Regions from separate parts of the Homo sapiens genome. Here region 1 is linked to region 2. Evidence: promoter capture Hi-C in 16 types of primary human blood cells and fetal thymus (Javierre and others, 2016). All regions are on one chromosome and are shown on one strand. Each heading gives the region's core, a stretch centred on a gene start or on the middle of the fragment in contact. The rest is flanking DNA. Distances are from core to core; before and after follow the strand shown. Region 1 overlaps PLA2G7 (phospholipase A2 group VII). Region 2 holds the start of MEP1A (meprin A subunit alpha).

The links. Contacts are between HindIII fragments. The CHiCAGO score rates a contact against its expected background, and 5 or more counts as called.
Region 1: a fragment that was not itself captured here is called in contact with the fragment with the promoter of MEP1A in region 2 in 1 of 17 cell types (monocytes); the score reaches 6.4 in monocytes.

Annotation. Positions count from the first base shown.
Region 1 is chr6:46,703,552-46,707,170 of GRCh38, reverse strand. PLA2G7 (phospholipase A2 group VII) reads left to right here. Exons shown (of 12, transcript NM_005084.4): 11 at 1,870-2,018; 12 at 2,475-2,970. The coding sequence ends at 2,611. It overlaps TDRD6 (tudor domain containing 6), which reads right to left. Exons shown (of 4, transcript NM_001010870.3): 4 at 2,852-3,619. Among named protein-coding and RNA genes, the nearest start is that of TDRD6-AS1, 17 kb to the right of the region's middle. The HindIII fragment of the contact is 1,207 bases long and covers 784-1,990 here.
Region 2 is chr6:46,791,204-46,794,704 of GRCh38, reverse strand. MEP1A (meprin A subunit alpha) reads right to left here and starts at 1,316. Exons shown (of 14, transcript NM_005588.3): 1 at 1,238-1,316; 2 at 1,129-1,153; 3 at 989-1,039. The coding sequence starts at 1,306. The HindIII fragment of the contact is 4,281 bases long and covers 334-3,501 here.

The sequences.
Region 1 (3,619 bases), core at 138-2,637, 88 kb after region 2:
TAAATTCCCCAAAGCTATAATGGGGTACCATGACGTGTTGGCAATTCTTGTATCCTGGAGGTGAAAAAGAACTCCTGATAAGGTTTTGAACTCTCGATGAGATATTACAAAGCAAAGATGGACCTGAACTCACCCCTTTCCTATCTGAAATCTGGTTTATTTAGGAGAAGAGAAGAGGCAGGAAGGAAATATATGGAGTATAGGCAATAAACACTATGGGCTCAGAGAATAGAGGGGTCTCTTCCAACAGAAAAGGATTCATAGATGACACTAAAATTGGATTTTGTAAGATCAAGAGAGTTTAGATAGTAAGGAAGGGTTTAGGTATTTCAGGCAAGGACTTCATTTAGCTTATGTGTATGTGCAACTCTTTCTAATTCTAAAACGGAAATAATACAGAACACCTAACCTTCCCTCAACCCTATTTCCTTACTAAGCTCTCACCTTTGCTTTTGTCCCTTCTCTGCTAGAAACCTTCAAAGAATAGCCAATATTAGTCATTGCATGTGCTTACTTCTATTCACTCTTTGACTCTTGTGGTCTAGCTTCCTGGGCCCCCACGGGCATGCCAAAACAAAGACACTAAAGGCCTGCTGCCTGCCACACCAGCAGCCTCTTCAGAGTCTCAACCTTGCTCTCTGCATCTGTTCAACATTGCTGACCACCCCTCTTCCTGCTCCCTTGGCTACTATGACCCACCTCTTTGCTGCTTCTCCTGTCATTTATACCACTCCTTCCATTTCTTCTCCTCTGGCAGTTCTCTACAGTCAGATCATCCAAGCTTCTGCTCGCAATTCTCTTGTATTCCTGCTGTTTATCTTCTTTATGTTTCTGACATTCAAGTTTCCTACTACAATGTGGGGAAGAGTGAGAGGGAGTTAAGTGGCCCTGTTTTGAGCTTAGATGACTAAAAGAATGATGGGTTGCTTATAAGAACCAGCAGAGTCAAGAGGCAGAGCAGCTTTGGGCAGGACTGGGAAGATGTCTTTTAACTTCACAATTTCTTAGCTTGAGAACTGAGGAATCTGTACACAGATGTCTGGCCACACATTGGATGATTACATAATTTACATGATAACACAGATGAAACATTTGAAGTAGAAGAGATTGCAAAGTGAGAAAAGAGTTGGTCTGCCAGTAGAATCCTAAGGAATGCCTACATTCAGCCAATGGGAAATGGGTGAAGAGCCAGTGAAGAACATAGAGTGGTTAGCGTCAGAAGGGAAGGTGCAATGTTAAGGAAACGTAAAGAAAAAAAGTGCAAGAAGGCCATCAAGTGTCAAATGTCCCAGTGGTGGTAGAAAACGAGGACTTAAAAAAGGCCATTCTATTTGACGTTAGGCTATTGATGAATTTACAGAGCAGTGCAAATGATATTTATAAAGTGCTTACAGTTTAATACTGGGAAAAGTGGTGTTTGAAATCTGTTTCCTCTAAGGCTTAAATCTAAAGTGATTTAAATTTAAAGTGACTAGCATCAAATACATACCACGTTCAGTGGTGAGGGCAGGTAGCAGGCTCTGGCTCTGAGTTCAGGGACCCTTCAATACAGAACACATTCCAGTATTCAAACTGGAAGTATTCCAATTCACTAAAAAGCAAGAATCATTTCTTCTAAAATCAAGATACCAAGCAAGAACAAGATTCTTTGAGTTGTATTTCTAGAGGGAAGAAGAATATACTCTGGGATCCCTAAACAAACAGCCTGTGACCCTTGAAACACATCTAAGTAGATCAAATTACAAGTTTTATTTCTTCTTTGGTTTTCAGTAAACAGACCAACAAGACCAGTACCTTTCTTACACTCTAACTAAAAAAATAATAATTTTATCAAACAATGTGACTTTTAAATGTCTTGTTCTCTTTTAGGGGTTCAGTCCACCAGAATTTTGCTGACTTCACTTTTGCAACTGGCAAAATAATTGGACACATGCTCAAATTAAAGGGAGACATAGATTCAAATGTAGCTATTGATCTTAGCAACAAAGCTTCATTAGCATTCTTACAAAAGCATTTAGGTAAGAAACTATTTTTTTCATGACCTAAACCAGATGAATCTCAGGACAAAGCTGTCTATCTTAATACAGCTTTAGTACTATTTAAACTATTTCCAGTTGGTTTACAATGGAACAAAGCAGTATATCAATTTGAAAACAGAAATTTGAGAAAGTCAATTTTGCTGCTTTACATCCTCTATATCATAGAAAGCAAATCCAACTGTTAAAGGTAATATTCTTTGTATGAAGCCTAGAGTGGACTTCCATGTTGAGGATACTGACAGCAGGTTGCCTCACTCCTATCCCGTTTGCATTCAGCTGCTAAAGCAGCCATGAGGCAGCTGATACAGAGCACATCGTCTCTACCATCCTAACGGAACTTGTGTAATTTGTAAATCTTTATTGCCACCTAGGGGCACCAAACTGTTTAATGCTCTCAAAAGTTTAATATGTTGATTAACACTTTATATTTTATAGGACTTCATAAAGATTTTGATCAGTGGGACTGCTTGATTGAAGGAGATGATGAGAATCTTATTCCAGGGACCAACATTAACACAACCAATCAACACATCATGTTACAGAACTCTTCAGGAATAGAGAAATACAATTAGGATTAAAATAGGTTTTTTAAAAGTCTTGTTTCAAAACTGTCTAAAATTATGTGTGTGTGTGTGTGTGTGTGTGTGTGTGTGAGAGAGAGAGAGAGAGAGAGAGAGAGAGAGAGAGAGAATTTTAATGTATTTTCCCAAAGGACTCATATTTTAAAATGTAGGCTATACTGTAATCGTGATTGAAGCTTGGACTAAGAATTTTTTCCCTTTAGATGTAAAGAAAGAATACAGTATACAATATTCATATCAGCCTAAATTTTAATTTTAAAGATGATTCCTTTTCAGTGTCGAAGTTAAAAACTGTTTTTACATTACTTTGACAGACAAGTAGATTAAAACAGGCAAAATCCCAGTGAAAACCTGTTGCAATGATACAAGACTCCCTAAACATAGAGTAAAAAACAATTTCTTGCCTTTTATTATCTACTATGGGCAGTGGAGTTTAATTATAGCAACATGATATTCTAGGTAGAATTTGGCAGCTCTTCTCTTTGACTTTTGGTCACGGTAAGAAAAATTAGAACAAGCAAAAGCCATTGTTTCAGCACAGGATTGGTGGTACTACACAATTTCAAATGATGACTAAAAGGAGTAGAGAAGGGTTAAGAATATTAGAGATGAGGCAAAGGCAGTGGATTAAATTGGTAATTTTTTGACACTTTCTTTAATTCTTTAAGGCATTCTACTTGCTAAAGAAAGGTTCCACAGGTATTACAGCATATAGCAGGGATTCCAGTTAGAATACATTAGTTACTCACACAAAGGCTGTGAAGGATAATAAAACATTCAGAATTACATTTAGCTTCTTCATATTCCAGTTAATTTTATTTAATGTTTTCAATTCTATATGTAGTAGTAAAACAGAATAACACGATTAAATGGAGGTAAAAATATAGCTTAAGAATTTATACTTATAAATATGGGAATCATGGAAAATGATTTTATTTCCCAGGGGACATAAAAATTTATACCACTCATTTGGTACCCTAGTCCTATCTTAGTGGTGTC
Region 2 (3,501 bases), core at 67-2,566:
CATTTACCTTCCTAAACTATTTCTGCTCTGCCTATGCAGCCATTCTCCAGCTATTCCAATTAAATATCAACTAACTGGCTTCTCTGTGAGTGAGACAAAGCCAGAAAAATTGACCCTTAGTTATTGGTATGTTAGTTTTGTAGCCTTCAGATAGCACTGAGCTATTAAGGTATGGGCTACAAGATCTGGAAGTAAGCCCCATCACTGCTACCTATGATCTTGAGCAAGTCACTCTACCCATGAGAAGCCACCTGTCGCTTCCCAAAAAAATGAAAACAGCACTTACTCCACGACAAGACTGGACAAATAAATATGCAATTGCATATAAAAGCTTTTGTAAACTGAAGGTACTTATTATCATGAATAGCTCTGCTTCCACAAATCCTGACCTAAGACACTGGGAATGCAGAGGCTTCTCTCTCATTTCAGAAGCAGGACAACAGAGAGAAAACAGAGATGATGACTCAGCTTCTCTCTCCTCTCAGTAATGGATGAGACTGATGAATTTCTTCAAGAAATATATTTGTAAATGAGATGTCTAAGTGGAGATTGCTTTACACTCACCCCTAAGTCTCAACCGAGGAGTTGTTAGTGAATATGATGGGCCAGTGGAGGGGTTGGGTTTTGTTTCCCCACTAAATATAACCAGAGGCTTATTCTTATATTTTTCTTTAACAATCGGAATAATTATCTATTTGCTTTCCTTTTCCTCCAAATACAAATTGGAAAAATAAAATTTTTATAAAGAGAAACTTGTTACATATTTCTAGATCCATTGAGGACTTCCTAGCTCTCCTAGAAAGTCTGGTCTAACTATCTTCTCTTTCCGCATTTTTATCTTTCAGAAAATGCAATTTCTCACAAAGCACCAAAAAATATTTCTCCCCCAGAGAATCACAATACAGTATTAGGAAGGAAAGTGTTCAGTAATCCCACCACTGGGTTTCAAGTAATTTCAAGACTTTAATAACACAAAAATTGAACTCACCTAAATTGATTTCTGAAATATCCTTCTGTTCACCAAAATCTGCATCATGTACTGTTAAAAGTGAGAAAAAAAATTATTATTAGTCTTGCCGAAGGAAAAAAGTTCAAAAACACTCTCTGTGCATTTGAACTAATTCTTACCATTTTCTTCAGGAAGATACTTAATCTGAAAAAAATAAATATACAGAAAATGGATAATGTATACTAGAATTAATATTTCTAAATATCCAAAAAGCAGGACTCGACTTACCGGTACAGCTGCTATGTGGGCAAAAAGCAAGGTAAAAAAGAGAATGCAAGTGGATCTAATCCAAGCCATTGCTGCAAGTGAGCTGATTTTAGCACACACCTTGTCATAAATACCGTTTAGACTTTACCCTGACGGTCGTATTAGAAACTTTGACCCTTCCATATGTACCGTAGTGCCAATAAAGGTTGTCAAAGATAACATCATTGACTCTTTCGAGGACAAACACTAAGTTTACCTTAAATGCTTAAGCTCCAAAGACTGGGGAAAAGTTTGAAAAATTAATACGGAAATGAGCATATAAGAACTAATAACATTCCTATAGGGCAGCCATAGCCATTCATATCATAAAACAGGATAGACGATCCCCTTAACAATAAAAATAAAAATAATTTATAAAATTATTATTATTTAATTCTAATAAAATATAAATTCAAATTTTATGGAAATGTTATAAAGCAATTATTGAAGGACATAAAAATACCTGACTCTCTCTCTATATGTACATATGTATGAAATATTAATAGATTGTTTTAATATTAATCTATAAATTCATTGTCATTCTAGTAAAAAATCTAACAGGGTTTTCAGTGGAACTTGCCAAGCTGACAAATGGTTCAATTCGCATGAAAGAGTAAACATTGAAGAATAGATAAGAAAATTCTGAAAAGGCTGAATAAAGAGAAAAGAATTGCCTCAAAAGAATATCAGGAGCTTTGGTAAAGTTACAGTAATTAGAGTGTAATAGTTCCAAAAATAAAGATAAAATGAATCTATAGACTGGAATAGGTAATATCCAAATAGATGCAAGCATATGCAGGGCTTTTATGTATAAGAGGAACCAAAAAGGCAAGAGGGAAACTTGGGTCTCTTTCATAATAATGTGGGAATAATTGCATTTCCATATGAGGAAATACATTAAATGTACACCTGATACCATTGACAAAAATAAATTCTAGATAGATTAAAAATTTAAATATGAAAATATAAACTTCAAAAAAGAAAATATAGGAACATATTTTTAACCTTTAGGTCAAGAAAGATTGCTTAAACATGAAAAAAACATAGAAATTACAGAGGAAAAGAATAATACATTTGACTGTATCAAAATTTAAACTTCTTTATGACAAAAACATAACATGATTAAAAGACAAGCCACAGGTGAGAGATGATATGTATACTGCATATAATTGAATAAGAATAAGTATTCAGGATATGTAAAGAATTTCTACAAATCAATAAAAAGAACAGGAGATTATCTAAGGAAAAAATGAACAAAAAATATGAGTAGCAAATTCACAAAAGACCCAGATGGCCAATAAATATGTAAAAAGATTTTTAGCCTCGTAAGTAATCAGAAAAATTATAGGTTCAAATAGCAGTAAAATACCACCTCAAGCTAAGATTGGCATAAATTAAGAAGACTGACAATATCAAGTGTCAACAAGAAGGTAAGAAAATAGGAAATCTAGTAGGACATCAATTTGATGCTATCTAATGAAGTTGAAATGTGCACAGTTCATAAGATAGAAACTTCACTTCTAGGTCTATATGCTAAAGGAACTCACACATATGTGCACAAAATTCCACATAGCATATTCATTGAAGTTTTTTTGTTATGGTAAAGAATGGGGAAAATGTGTTTATACTAAAAGAAAAGATAAATTATGGAATATATTCAGCCATGCACAGGTAAATGTTTAATAATCGGCTCTTTTAAAAAAAGTAAAAACAAACAAGCAAACAAACAAAACCAAGCCTTTATTTGTAGTGTTTGTTGATTGCCATGGTCAATTTCAAGCTACCAACACCATGTCACTGAATGCAGTGTTGGGAAGAGATGTACACAGTGGGCTCCATCTGCGCCAGCACAATACTAAATATATGCACACACCCACCTATTCTTGCCTGCACCAGATATAAGAATCTTTGGCATTAGAGCAATCTTCAAGGTCTAGAGCCTGCATCTCTCTACCTCAGACTTACTACTGGGCAGGTGGGCTAGTCCTGCTGTCAAAAAAGCATTTCCTGTCACAAAAGACTTTTAGAAGGTGAACAGTAGAGCTTCTTGAGCTGTAAAATAGGAGGCATGTCAACTGGGGGCCTGCTTCTGATGGGCAGAAGCGTTCTATGGCTGATTTTTGTTTTACCTAAGCCACTGATGGTGAGGTGATAAAAGGCCATCTTCCACCGTCTCTAACCATTACAAACCACTAATATTATTTTTTAAACGAAACAAAACAAAACAAAAAGCCAAATTTGCCCAA